Regions from separate parts of the Homo sapiens genome. Here all the other regions are linked to region 1. The links are contacts of gene promoters, found by promoter capture Hi-C in human tissues and cell types (Jung and others, 2019). All regions are on one chromosome and are shown on one strand. The core of a region is centred on a gene start or on the middle of the fragment in contact, and the rest is flanking DNA. Distances in the headings are between cores, read along the strand shown.

The links. The method cuts DNA at HindIII sites, captures the fragments that hold promoters and counts their contacts. A contact is called where the count stands out against the background at its distance.
Region 2: a fragment that was not itself captured here is called in contact with the fragment with the promoter of MRGPRE in region 1 in 1 of the 25 tissues and cell types used here (pancreas).
Region 3: a contact is called between a fragment that was not itself captured here and the fragment with the promoter of MRGPRE in region 1, in 2 of the 25 tissues and cell types used here (adrenal gland and heart right ventricle).

What each region holds. Positions count from the first base shown.
Region 1 is chr11:3,230,686-3,235,368 of GRCh38, reverse strand. It overlaps MRGPRE (MAS related GPR family member E), which reads left to right and starts at 2,952. Exons shown (of 2, transcript NM_001039165.4): 1 at 2,952-3,228. The HindIII fragment of the contact is 8,659 bases long and covers 1-4,683 here.
Region 2 is chr11:3,404,699-3,408,914 of GRCh38, reverse strand. It overlaps the pseudogene TSSC2 and the pseudogene FAM86GP. Among named protein-coding and RNA genes, the nearest start is that of ZNF195, 28 kb to the right of the region's middle. RefSeq lists enhancers at 1,859-2,370, 2,371-2,884, 3,242-4,075, 4,076-4,216. The HindIII fragment of the contact is 7,437 bases long and covers 1-4,216 here.
Region 3 is chr11:3,036,251-3,040,686 of GRCh38, reverse strand. CARS1 (cysteinyl-tRNA synthetase 1) reads left to right here. Exons shown (of 23, transcript NM_001014437.3): 5 at 756-852; 6 at 1,395-1,493; 7 at 2,488-2,637. All of the region lies in intron 1 of CARS1-AS1 (CARS1 antisense RNA 1), which reads right to left. Among named protein-coding and RNA genes, the nearest start is that of CARS1-AS1, 9.1 kb to the right of the region's middle. RefSeq lists an enhancer at 1-636. The HindIII fragment of the contact is 5,188 bases long and covers 1-4,343 here.

The sequences.
Region 1 (4,683 bases), core at 1,703-4,202:
GGCATGGATCACCAGTGTCACTGACCAGAAACTCATCACGACAGTCAAGGCCAAGGACATGACCAAACCAAGCCTAAATTACCATGTTTCCCCTAGGACCTTTCAGTACCAGCAGGGACACAGTCAGTAGGCAGAAGCTACCTATAATTTTGAAGGGATGATCTTAAAGAATTGTTCACTAGAGACTGAAAAACCAAACACGTACAAAGGGAACACTAAGGTATTAGAGAAGAAACAACTGCAAAAAGAGCCGCCACCCCGGGCACGGGGAACAAAGGAAGGAAGTTAAAACTATTGAAATTTAGGACCAGTGGGGACGACTAGAGTGTAATTCAGGCCCCTGAGGGGGCTCCCAGCCAGTTAGTGGCCAGTGTCTCCAACAGGAAACAATGGGTCTGGTTTTTCAAGTGCTGGGAAAACTGCAGAAGTCCACTGCTGCTACAAGGTGGAGAAAGTTGCTGCGGGCCAGGCATGGTGGCTCACAGCTATAATCCCAGCACCTTCGGAGGCCAAGGCAGGAGGATTGCTTGAGATCAGGAACTAGAGACAAGCCTAGGCAATGTATCGAGACCCTATCTCTATAAAGTTAAAAATTTAAAAATTAGCCAGACAAGCCTCTGGTAGCCTGGCACTTGGTGCATGCCTGAAGTCCCAGCTACTCAGGAAGCTGAGGAAAAAATGCTTCAGCTTGCAAGTTGGAGGCTGCAGTGAGCTGTGATCATGCCACTGCACCTCAGCCTGGCCAACAGAGTGGCATTCTGTCTCAAAAAGAGAGAGAGAGAGAGTTGCTGGGGCAACTCTGACAGGGAGTGAAAGTGAAGCTCGAAAACATAAAGGAAGATGGACTAATTGGAAAGAGTCAGACAATTGGAGGGGTAGGGGAACTGGAAGGAGTGGGACAATAGGAGGGGTGGGACAATTGGAAGAGTGGGACAGTTGGAAGGGTGGGACAACTAGAATGGTAGGACAATTAAAAAGGTAGAACAATTGGAAGGAGTGGGACAATTGGGAGGGTTGGACAATTGGAACGGTGAGACAATTGGAAGGGTGGGACAATTGAAAGAGTGGGACAATTAAAACTGTGGGGAAATTGGAAGGGTGGGACAATTGGAAGAGTGAGGCAATTGGAAGGCAGTACAATTGATAGGAGTGGGACAACTGGAAGGAGTGGGACAACTGGAAGGTGAGACCATTGGAAAGGTGGATCAATTGGAAGGTAAGACCATTGGAAAGGTGGGTCAATTGAAAGAGGGGGACAATTGCAAGGGAAGGGCAATTTAAAAAGTGGGACCATTGGAAAGAATGGGGCAATTGGAAGGAGGGGGACAACTAAAAGAGTGGGATAATTAAAAGGATGAGGCAATTGGAAGGCTGGGACAATTGGAAAGAGTGGGAAAATTGGAAGGGTGGGACAGTTGGAAGGCTAATGCAATTGGAAGGTGGGATAATTGGAGGGTGGGACAACTGGAAGGAGTGGGACAAATGGAAGAGTGGGACAATTGGAAGGAGTGGGACAAATGGAAGAGTGGGACAATTGGAAGGAGTGGGACAATTGGAAGAGTGGGACAATTGGAAGGAGTGGGACAAATGGAAGAGTGGGACAATTGGAAGGAGTGGGACAAATGGAAGAGTGGGACAATTGGAAGGAGTGGGACAATTGGAAGAGTGGGACAATTGGAAGGAGTGGGACAAATGGAAGAGTGGGACAAATGGAAGAGTGGGACAGTTGGAAGGAGTGGGACAATTGGAAGGGTCGGGCATTTGGAAGGGTGGGACAGCTTTAAGGTGTAAGACAAGTGGAAGGCATGGAACTTATGAAAGGGTGGGATGGACAATTGAAAGGAGTGGCACTATTGGAACTGTGGGACAACTGGAGGGAGTGTGGCACTTAGAAGGGTGAGATATTTGGAACGTGTGGGGCGATTGGGAGCACTTCCCCCACACCCCTGGGCCATCCTTGAGTGACCACCCACTGGTAGGGCCTCCCAGAGCGGTGGCAGAGCCCAGGCATGGTTTACAGAGCCTCGGGCACCTGGCAGCTCGGATCCTGGTTTAGGAAGGGAGGATTTGAAGCTGAGACACAACTCAGCAAGCGGCACTGCTGCCTGTCAGATACCAGCCCCGCATGGACGTCAGACACCAGCGCGACACATTCATCAGACACCAGCATTGCACAGACGCCAGACGACCTGTGTGCGGCCCCTCCGTTTTGGGGATGGAGGATGCCGGTGCCCTGGGGGATGCCTGCTGATGTAGTGACAGGTCAAAGGCCACGTGCGGGAAACTTGCTCTCACTTGGTCCGCAAGAGGAGAGGTCAGGCGGACTGCGCAGAGTGGGAAACGCTCCGGAGCAAATCCGTGCTGTTTCTGCACTCTTCTCTACCTCGGAGATTTTTCTAAAGACAAAGATGAGAAAAGAGTTGCTAGGGCCTGGACTCGGGGAGGAACAGAGGCCAAAAAATGACCTTGTTTTCCTTCTCTTGGCACGTCAATTGCGATCTCCCTTAAGGCAGGGCACTGGAAGGAAAGGCACGGTCTGAAACGGGACTTGAAATCACTGAGTTCACGAGGTCTCCCGGAGCCTGACGCTGCTGTATGTGTTTGATTCTCCTCGGCCGGGGACCGCGCGGCAGCTTCTTGACACCGGCCATCTACTCTGTGCCTGCGAACGAGGCAGGAGGGACGGCCTCACGCACATCCCCGCTCCTCCCCGCGGTCCCACACTGCCTGGAGAGCTGGGGCCGGCAGCCTGTGCTCTGCGGAGAGAAAAACACATTTTTGCTGCAAGGACAAGTTCCGCCGGTAGCCCGGCTCTCAGCCGGCCCCTCCGAGGCACAGATGGAAAGAAGTGGTCCCTAAAGGGCCCTACAGGGCTTGGTGTCTCTGAGCCAGGAGTGCCAGTGAAGTCACAGCTTGGCTGGGCTCCACCCAGAGATCTCGTGGTTTCCTCTGCCTGCCAGGCCTGCCTGGAAGGCTGCAGGGAGGTTCAGGGTTTCTCTTGCTGTCCACACCTGGGCGAGAGCTGAGCGGAAGAGAAGGGGTCCTCAGAGAGACACCTTCCTGACCGGCCCCATTCCAGCTGGATGCCATGTGACTCGGAGGAGCTGGTGGACACTGAACAGGAGCCGCCCAGAGGCTCTGGGGACTGGAGCCCTCGGCCGCGGCCAGGATAGATCCAAGGCCCAGGGTCAGAGCAGGCAGGGCTCGGCCAGTCCTCTGCCCCAAACGGTGAGTAGCGCAGGTGGCTGGATCAGGGTGGGTCTCTGGGGCCGGCCCAGGCGCTCGGCATTTTCTGGGCTCTTTTGCTGGCCAGATGGTGGCAGGGGTGGGGCGTGGGCAACAGCAGATGCTATCAACAGGGAGCTCTCCAGGCTGCAGCCTCCGCCCTCTGACGGGCCGCACCACCTGGTCCGCAGCCAGCCCTGGGCTGAGTCTGGAAGAGGACGATAGCTTGGGTGATGGCTCCCCAACCCCCCACCCCCGGTGGCTCTGTCTCCTGTCTGCCTTGCTTCCTCCATGATCTAGAGTGTTCCCTGCAGGTGCAGACTCTCAAGGGGAGTCATGGGGGCAGCCGGGGATAGGCCCTCTCCTCCCTGCCACACCTGGGTGCTCAGCCTCAGGGCTTCTCAGTATTGGCTGTCTGGGCGGGACACAGAGCCACTCCTGGACCACCCAGGGATGGGGAATGCTGTGCCTCCCTCCTCTTCTGTTCCATCGTCCTTCCCCGCCTCCTCCCCTCCTTCTCCTCCCCCTCCTCCTCCTCCCTCCTGTTCTCTTCCATCGTCCTCCCCCGCCTCCTCCCCTCCTTCTCCTCCCTCTCCTCTTCCTCCTGCTCACCAAGGATGCAACAAACTCCTCTACTCCCCACAGTCCTGTAACCCAACTGTGGCGACCCTTCCTACAGAGCTCTGCCTCCCTCCCGAGCCCCCAGTGGGGCACATGGTCCCACAGGGAGACCTCCTCCAGGGTCACAGCAGAGAGGGGGCAGCAGCAGGGTCTGGCTGAGCTCCGTGGCTCTAACCCCTTGTCCCCCTGTTCTCCTCCCTGTTTCCTTCTCTGTCCCCCATCTCTTCATGCCTCTCCCCTTCCTGCACTCTCCCCTCTCCCTCTATGTCCATCGCTTCCCTGCCATGCTCTCTCCCTGGGGCCCACCCATGAGGCCCGTGTCCTCCTCAGCCATGCAGGAGGTGAGATAGGAGAGGGACCATGGCCCTTGGTGGGCCACAGGCTGGAGAAACCCCACCTGTTGCTTTGGGGCTGGAGCTTGCTGGTAGATCCCGGAGATAGCTCCGTCCATGGGTGGACGGGACTTGTGCCTGGGAGGGGGTCCACCATCAACAGACTTAAGACCTCCCAAAACTCATCTCTGCCTCCCTCTGGGCCTGAGGGTTGGTGACCCCCCCAAGCTATCCTGAGTAGGAGAGCATCTGTCCCCCTCCCCACATCTCCCCACCTGCCATGGCAGTGATGCCCCGTCTGCCCCACTCAGGGTGTCCTCCTGATGATGCTGGCCCAGGTGGGGCTCCCTCCACCACCACCTCACCTCCCACCCATGGTCTGCCTTCCCGGGGCCTTGGGTGCTAGGATGGAGCACAGGGACAGGAGGAAGAGCCCTATATCTCCAACCAGGCTTGACTCCACCCGCAGGAGATTCAGACTGGACCACGGGCAGGACTCAGCTTC
Region 2 (4,216 bases), core at 905-3,404, 170 kb before region 1:
TGGGAGGCGCTGCTCGAAAGGATTTGCCCTGAGACTCTGAGAAGAAGCTGTGGGAAGGACAGCAGGGGTCCCGGGGTTTTAGCCTCTGGCCCAGGAGTTATGTGTCCATAACCAAAGGGAGCACAGTCTGCACCCAGCTCTAATCCCATCGGAGCTGCTGCGACTCCCGCAGGTTCTTCCGGAACTGGTTTAGCTTGCCCGCAGGATCAGGAAAGTTTGAGAAAAGCACCTGCAAAAAAATAAAGAGCAGAGCTTACCTCATTGCCTGTCCCCACCCCATCCCATGTCACCACCTGGCTGACCCCAGGTCCCCTACCCAACAACAACCCCTCCCAAGTTCCTAACTCCCTCACTTGGACTCGAGACTCTTCATGCCCCAGCAGCGCTCTGCCTCCAACTTGACATCATGCTTTCTGGAAACTTCCCCGTATGTCCCACTTTCCCACACTTGGTGCCCTGGAGCACCTCCTGGCCTCTACATGCTGTATGTTCCCCTGCGAGCACCCTCCTCTTGGCCTCCGGCCAAGTCCCACCCATCTGTGGGTAACAAGGGGGTGTCGGTGTTCTTTTCAGCCTTGCTAAACTGTCTGAATCAAGGATCACAAACTACAGCCTGCAGGCCAAATCCAGCCCACAGCCTGTGTTTGTAAATAAAGTTTTATTCGAACAAAGCCACACCCCTTAATCGACAGATGATCTGTGGCTACTTTCACACCACAACAGAGTACCATGGTTCTGACAGAGACTGGGGGACCCAGTCTAAATGACTTCTGACCTGGACCTTTACTGAAAATCCTGCCAATCATTCTGTTGGCAAGAATGATGTATTACTTTTAGCAATAAGAAACAAGTAACCTTTGCAGAATTCCACCCATCTTTCAAGGCTGGTCCCAGAAGCTCCCTTTGCCCACGCACCTACCTGACCCTGATCACTTCCTAAACTGCAGCCCGGCCCACCCGGCTCCAGCATCATTTGTGGAATGTCAGCTCCATAAATCCAGAGGGCAGGTGGGGGTGTGTCCTAACTTTCCCGAGCTTACTGTACCGAAACGGGACAGCAGAGTGGGCCGGACTCTGTGACCTCTGCTCCCTCCCTAGCTTTTCCGCCAGACCCCACATGGTCCCACCCTGGCTGTGGGAAGCAGGGATCAGGGAGCGTGGCTCGGTGCCAGCCTCCAGAACCCTCCCCACCCTGGCGTGGTGGCAGATGTGGCTACCTGCAGCTGAGCTGCCAGTTCCTCTGAGTCCTCAAAGACCAGGCCATTTTCTTCATGTTTCACCAGCTCATGTAAACTGCAGAGAGAACCAAGGGAGCCTGAGAGCTGCCTGGAGAAGACACCAGACCCCTGGGGTGCCCACCTGGGCTCCCCCCAACAACCCATGCTCAAGCCAGGCTGGGGGTTGGAACAGGGGGTGTGGTTTCTGGGAGCTGGTTCTTAGATTTGGCATCTGAAGGGTATAAAGGCCTGGGGGGGTGCACATCGAAATGGCCAAACCGATTTGAGGAGGGAGCCTTAAGGAGGGTTTCTACCTTCTGTGCTGGATGCTCTTCAAGGACTGAAGAATTATTTTTGCATGTTTTGCTTAATTCCATGGCCATGGAACAAGTAAAGGCAACACCCTGGGGACTGGCTCAGCACATAAAAGATGACTTTTCTAGGGCACCAGGTTTGATCCCGACATTCCCTGAGCTCAGCTCACACGAGGGGCTCACATCCCTGACTCCCATCCAGGAGCCGGCTCCTGAGCAGGGGCCAAGGGCTCAGCTTGTGCTGGGGCTACTGCTTCTAGAATCTCCTCTAACACCGCCCTTCCAAATGCCCGTCTACGCTGGGTGCAGTGAGGCCACAGCACGACACTCATTTAACTCATTCAAACCCAGCACGTGAGCTTGGCCAAACAGGACATGGTGGGAGAGAAAGAAACAAAGAAAACCATGTAAGCCTGCAGGCAATTCCCGCCAATTCTACTCTAGGAGCAAAAGCCCCGAGTGGAGTTCCAGTATTTAAGATGCTTTTTTTTCATATTAGGTTGGTGCAAAAGTAATTGCCATCTTTAATGGCAAAAACCGTGATTACTTTTGTATCAACCTAAATATAACATGAGCTCTAAATGGAAGCAACTACTTCAGTGAGGCTCAGCCCAGACACAGTAACCGCAGGGCTCCTCCTCGTGGCCTCCAGTGTGTGCTGGACTGACCCAGGAGCAGGGCCTCACTGTGGGCAGCTCGCTCTGCACTGTTTCCTCCTCAGCGGTGGATCTGTGAAGCTATCCCCAGAAAGATTCGGGTTCTGCTCCTGCCACTTGAAGTTCACGGCACACACAGGCAAACAGCACCCGAACATGTCCACCACCTTCATGGGCAGGTCCAGGCCACTGCAGGACGTGTGCAGACAGACACCCAGATCCACCGACCCTGCTGGGCAAGAGGGGTGCGGTCAGAGCGCTGGTCTCTGCCCTGGGAACACAAATCCTCCCAGCACAGTGAGGCAACATCCCCCGAGGGGAGTGAAAATCGGATAAGTCCCCCGACAGCCCCAAGCACAAGTGGCTTAAGCTGGCCAAGCAGCCACATGGCCTGGCTGGGACATCTGAAAATGTAAGTTGACACTTTTTCTACGTAACCACAATTTGGTTTTTTTGTTGTTGTTTTGTTTTGTTTTGAGACAGAGTCTCACTCCGTCACCCAGGCTGGAGTGCAGTGGCACAATCTCAGCTCACTGCAACCTCCACCTCCCAGGTTCACCTCCCGCATGTAAGCCCAGCATTTTGTGAGGCCAAGGTGGGTGGAACACCTGAGGTCAGGAGTTCAAGACCAGCCTGGCCAACATGGTGAAACCCCATCTCTACTAAAAAAAATACAAAATTAGCGAAGCATCGTGGCAGGTGCCTGTAATCCCAGCTACTCAGGAGGCTGAGGCAGGAGAATTGCTTGAACCTGGGAAGGCGGAGGTTGCAGTGAGCCAAGATCGTGCCATTGCACCCCAGCCTGGGCTACAAGAGCGAAACTCTGTCTCAAAATAATAATAATAATAATAATAATAATAATAAAAAACCACAGCACACCCACTACAAACCAGCTGTCAGTGTGAAAATAAAGTGAAACAGCTTAACATTTCTAAAGACTAGCTGGGGCCAGGCGTGATGGGTCACGCCTGGAATCCCAGCACTTAGGGAGGCCAAGGCAGGAGGATCACTTGAAGTCAGGAGTTCAAGACCAGCCTGGCCAACACGGTGAAACCCTGTTTCTACTAAAAATACAAAAATAAACCAGGTGTTGTGGCGGGCTCCTGTAATCCCGTAATCTACTCGGGAGGCTGAGGTGGGAGAATCGCTTGAACCCAGGAGGCGGAGGTTGCATGAACTGAGATCGTGCACTCCAGCCTAGGCAACGGAGCGAGACTGTCTAAAACAAAGACTAACTGGAGAGTCCTGCCAGGAAAAGGCCCTCAGCCTCCAACTGCTCTGCTCACTCGAAGCTGGAAGATGTGGCTCTAGAGACGCATCAGGACCAAGCCACGACTCCCCACTTGGAGAAGTCAACGGGGAAAGAGACGGAGGCAAAGGAGAACCATCTCACTGGGAGAGGCGACGCTGTTTCACACATCGTCCCTGTACCTCCCAAAGCCACTGCCCTCCCACACCTGGGCAACAGTGGCCCCAACCCCAGGCCCAGCCCTCCTGCAGGAAGGAAGAGGACTGAATGGAGGGCGCGGAAGGCTGAAAGGACGTGGCCTCCTCAAACCCCTTGGTAAAGGGCCTCTGGGGCCACCTGGCAGGGAGGGGCTGGCACACCAGGAAGTAGCCTCCTCCCGGGAGTTCAGCCAGAGCCCAGGTCCTGTCCCCAAGTGGCCTCCAGAGCCACATTTTCAGAAAAAGTACATCCCGCCCACCCCTGTTCCCCCTGCTTAAGGCCCCGCCTCCTCCCTGAGCCTCCTGCTGGCCTCTCACCTAGAAGCGGGGGTAGTCCTCGGCCTCCAGCCAAGGGGTGCAGACCTGGATGTGCTGGAAATGCTTCTGGTGGATGAGGCGGCTGTAATACTCCCTCGGAGGCCCTTTGCCTTCACAGAGAAGAGCAGATACTGCCATGGACTCGTCTCTGTCCCTGCCAATTGGCCTCAGGCCCAAGACACTCCCCCCGAGGAGGGATCCCTTTCCCAGAAGCTCCACCCCTCGGCCGCTCCAGTCAGGTCCCATCCAGGCCCTTCCAGAAGCA
Region 3 (4,436 bases), core at 500-2,999, 190 kb after region 1:
TACAGATCACCAAAAAGAAAATGTCCATAGCCCCACTGCTAACATGCTGGACTCGACCTGGGCACTTTTTCTCACATACCTTAAAGTTTTCTCTCATCCCTCAAGCTCTCGTGGGGTCCCCAGATGCTGAGTTCCCGTGACACTCAGACCTGACAGGCCTGACGCTGGGTTGGCTGTGACCGCCCCCCGACCACTGGATGGTCATGGCTGTAGCTCCTGACGAGTAGCTGGCTGTTGGGGTAAATGCCACAGAGTCCTTTTATGTGTTCATGTTTTAGTTGCAGTGCCAAGGTCATGTATAGTCAACCCTTGAACAACCTGGAGGGTAGAGGGTGTGACCCTCTGCACAGTTGAAAATCCACACATAACTTTTGATTCCCCAAAAACTTCACCACTAAAATAGCCTCCTGTTGACCAATAGCATGCCAGTCAATGAACACATATTTTGTATATACATTACATACTGTATTCCTAATGATAAAGGAAGCCAGAGAAAAGAAAATATTATGAAGAAAATCATAAGGGAGAGGCAATATATTTACTATTCATTAGGTGGAAGTGGATCATTATAAAGGTCATCATCCTTGCCATCTTCACGTTGAGTAGACTGAGGAGGAGAAGGGGGGGTCTTGCTGTTTCAGGGATGGCAGAGAAAATCATATATAAATGCACTCATGCAGTTCAAACACGTGTTGTTGGAGGTTAAGCTATACATATCGTCTGGTGTGGAAATGTTTGTTTTTTCATTGCTTTAGGTCCTACATCTCTTTTGATATCTTGAGAAGAGTGTTGAAGGATTACTTCAAATTTGATGTCTTTTATTGCATGAACATTACGGATATTGATGACAAGGTAAAGGGAATTTGTAAGATTAAATTTTAAATGCAATTGGATGGTGTAAAAGAAGATAGAACTTTCGCATAAGTAAATAATGTAGGCTTGAGCTAGCTTGTGTTTTCACCTGATAAACATCATTTTAATCCCCTCAGTGAGTTAATATTACCACTTCTGCTACTGATATGATCATTTCTATGATGTTCAGACACGGTTAGAAACCTGCATGTTGCTCAGGGGTCGGTAGCCCTGGGTGTTTTGCAGAAGGAAGGCCTCCCACAGCACGCACTTCGACATGTGGCTTGCAGGGGAAGCTGGGGCCCCCAGGGCTCATTTCATTAAGCGTCAGAAAGATCATGTTAGGCCTTGGGCACTACTTGGCAGGTGGGAGATGGAGGGTGGTGTTTCTATTTGATGATGGTGTGCACGTCCGGGGCCCACAGTTGTCTCCCACCACCCTCACCCTCACTTAGAGTTGGCCAAGGGAGAGAGTGGCCTGCTGCAGAGGGATGCATGTGGGATCCAAGCATCACTCCCCAATGTCTGCCTTCCCTCCCCAGATCATCAAGAGGGCCCGGCAGAACCACCTGTTCGAGCAGTATCGGGAGAAGAGGCCTGAAGCGGCACAGCTCTTGGAGGATGTTCAGGCCGCCCTGAAGGTGGGCCTCTTGCTGTCTGCTCTAGAAACCGAGCCCTTTGCTTTCTGTTCTCGGTCCTTTGTAGGCTACTGTCCCTAGGGTAGTGTCAGTCTCACAGGCTTTCACAAAGTGTATGTTACTCAAGCCAGTTCCGTCAGGGGCGCTGAAGTCTCCATAGGTAAGGTCCCCTGGCCTGTGACAAAGTCACCAGCAAAGATGTACTGGAGTGGAGTGGAGAGTAGGTGACATTCCTGCCACTTACAGGAAAACAACTGAATTCATCACAGTGCCACTAATTACACTTATAAAAATGCTTACCAATATTGCTGTCTAATTTTCAATGCCAAGGTTACAACTAAATCAGAAACTTCTGCCCAAGATACAAAAGCTATACTAAGCTTTTTAATTTGGTAATACTGTAAATTTTCAGAATCTTTTGAAGAAATTAGTTCTCTCTAGTATTTTCATTCTGAATAACCATCGTTATATACTTATTTTTATTACAATAGTAAGAATAGGTCATTTTACTCTCTACTAATTATCCTTAGTAATTACAGTAATCATTATGGATATGCTTATGGCATTTTATCTCTGGAATTAAAAACAGGAATAAAATTAGAGCTGAGCAATCTTTTAGGTCAGTGAGGCCTGAGTACCTTCCTGATGGATGTGTCTGCAGCACACCTCAGAACACACTGGGTGGCCTACTTTTCCTCATCCCCAGAACAGCCCTAGAAATACTGCTCTCACACCCAATTTGCATTGGAGAAACTGAGGCACAGAGAGGTTAGGTGCCCTGTCCAGGGTCACACGTGAGAGGGCAGAACCAGGAGCTCCTGAGCCGGGAGCTTCAGTCTCTCTTAGTTCCTTACTGCCTGGCCACTTGGGTTGCACACTTCTCTATCTCTATGGGGCCATGGGAAAAACCGTTCTGTTTTCTACCTGGAATCACCTTTATGAATTTAGGTTTTGCTGAGCAGTATCTAATAGATTTGACGTCTCTTTATGGTTGCAGCCATTTTCAGTAAAATTAAATGAGACCACGGATCCCGATAAAAAGCAGATGCTCGAACGGATTCAGCACGCAGTGCAGCTTGCCACAGAGCCACTTGAGAAAGCTGTGCAGTCCAGACTCACGGGAGAGGAAGTCAACAGCTGTGTGGAGGTGAGGCTTCACACATCTCCCAGACAGCCCGTTCGGGTCAAATGTCGGGCCGTGCATAGACTGATCTGTGTGCACGGATTGATTCCACAGATTGTCTTAGTGGAAGACACTCTGTGTCTCCAGTAGCTCCACTGTGGCAGGCGGCCCTGTTCTGCGGTGGCTGAGTCAGTGCCCCTCCCCTCCCACACCCCTTTGCCCCATTTCCTGGGTGCAGAGCCTGTGCCACTGGAAGGAGACTCGGGATCCACACCCTCCCACCACTTCCATCAGATAGGCAGGAGGTGCACTTGGAACGTGGGGAGGCAGCCTTCTGTCGAAGTGTTCCAAGATTCTCCAGCGGACTCTCCCCACACCAGCTGGAGAAGGAGGAGCAGGGATTAACATTGAATTGAGCATTGAGGCCTGTGGGTACCTACTGAGCTTGGGGCCTTCACGTTGACCAGCTCTCCTGCCCCTGCCAATATCTCCTTCAGACACAGGGCAGAGACCTGGGTGCAGAGGGGACCCTGCCCTCTTCCTCAGGCCTTTCCCTGTGGCTGGCGCCCTGGACACAGTCAGGAAGGCCTTCTCCTTTGTGCCAGCGCCGCCTGCTGGTCACCCTTTAAGAACTCGATGGAAAAGAGAAGAGACGGCTGCAGCTGTGTGTAGAAAAAGAGGCCCCACTGAGGCCGCAGCCCTGCCTTCCCTCACCACTGCCCTGGCCCCACCTCAGTGATGGGGCAGGGAGTCTGTGTCTGCCCTTCGCCAGCATGTTTCTTTCTAGTTTGGTCTCTTCTGTGTCCTGACTCAGCAGATCGCTTCGTTGCGCCTGTTTCCAAACTTCACGGAAACACGCCACGTGTATGTAGTCGTCAGTGTGCTTTCACCCAAGCTGTGCTTCTGGGACGACCCACATGTGGTCACTGTCACTGCCTCAGTGCCTGCCTGGGAGCCGAGCTGTTTGTCTGTTCTCCTGGGACGGGCAGTTAGGTTTCCTTCTTACCAACAATGCTGCTGTAATTTTTTTCCCAGTTGTTCCACTAATATTCTTTTTTTTTTTTTAATTGTGGTAAAACACACATCATAAGAAATTTACCATCTTAGCCATTTTTAAAAACTTTTTTTTTGTAGAGACAGGGTCTTTTTGTGTCTGGTTTATTTTGCCCAGCATAGTGTGCCCATGGTTGACCCATGCTGTAGTGCATGTCAGACTCTGCTTCCTTCCTATGGCTGAATGATACTCTGTTGTGTATAGATGGGCCACATTTTGCTCATCCTTTCACCTGCCCGTGGACACGTGGGTTGTTTCCACCTTTTGGAGATGCAAGTAATGCTGCTATAAACCTGGGTGTACAAATATCTGTTTGGGTTCCTGCTTTCACTTCTTTTGGGGATATACACGGAAGTGGAATTGCTGGGTCATGTGATGATTCTATTTTTGATATTCTGCGTAACCACCGTATTGTTTCTGCAGTGGCTGCACTATTACACATTCCCACCCATAGTGCATGGGGTTCTGTTTTCTCCACATCCTTGCCAAAGCTTGTTATTCTTCATTTTTTTCATCCCAGTAGGTGTGAGGTGGTATACTGTGGTTTTGGTTTGCATTTCCTTAATGGCTAGTGATGTGGAGTGTCTTTTGCTGAACTGTGAGTTGTTTTGTGTTGTCTCTAGGTGGACATTTGCAAGTTTCTTTAGGCCATATACCTGCAAGTGGAATCGCTGGGTTGTGTAGGATATATGTGAGTGACTGTCGGGGGTTCCCAACACTGCCCACACATTCTGGGGCCCTAGAAGGACTCATGAGACTCGGCATCGAG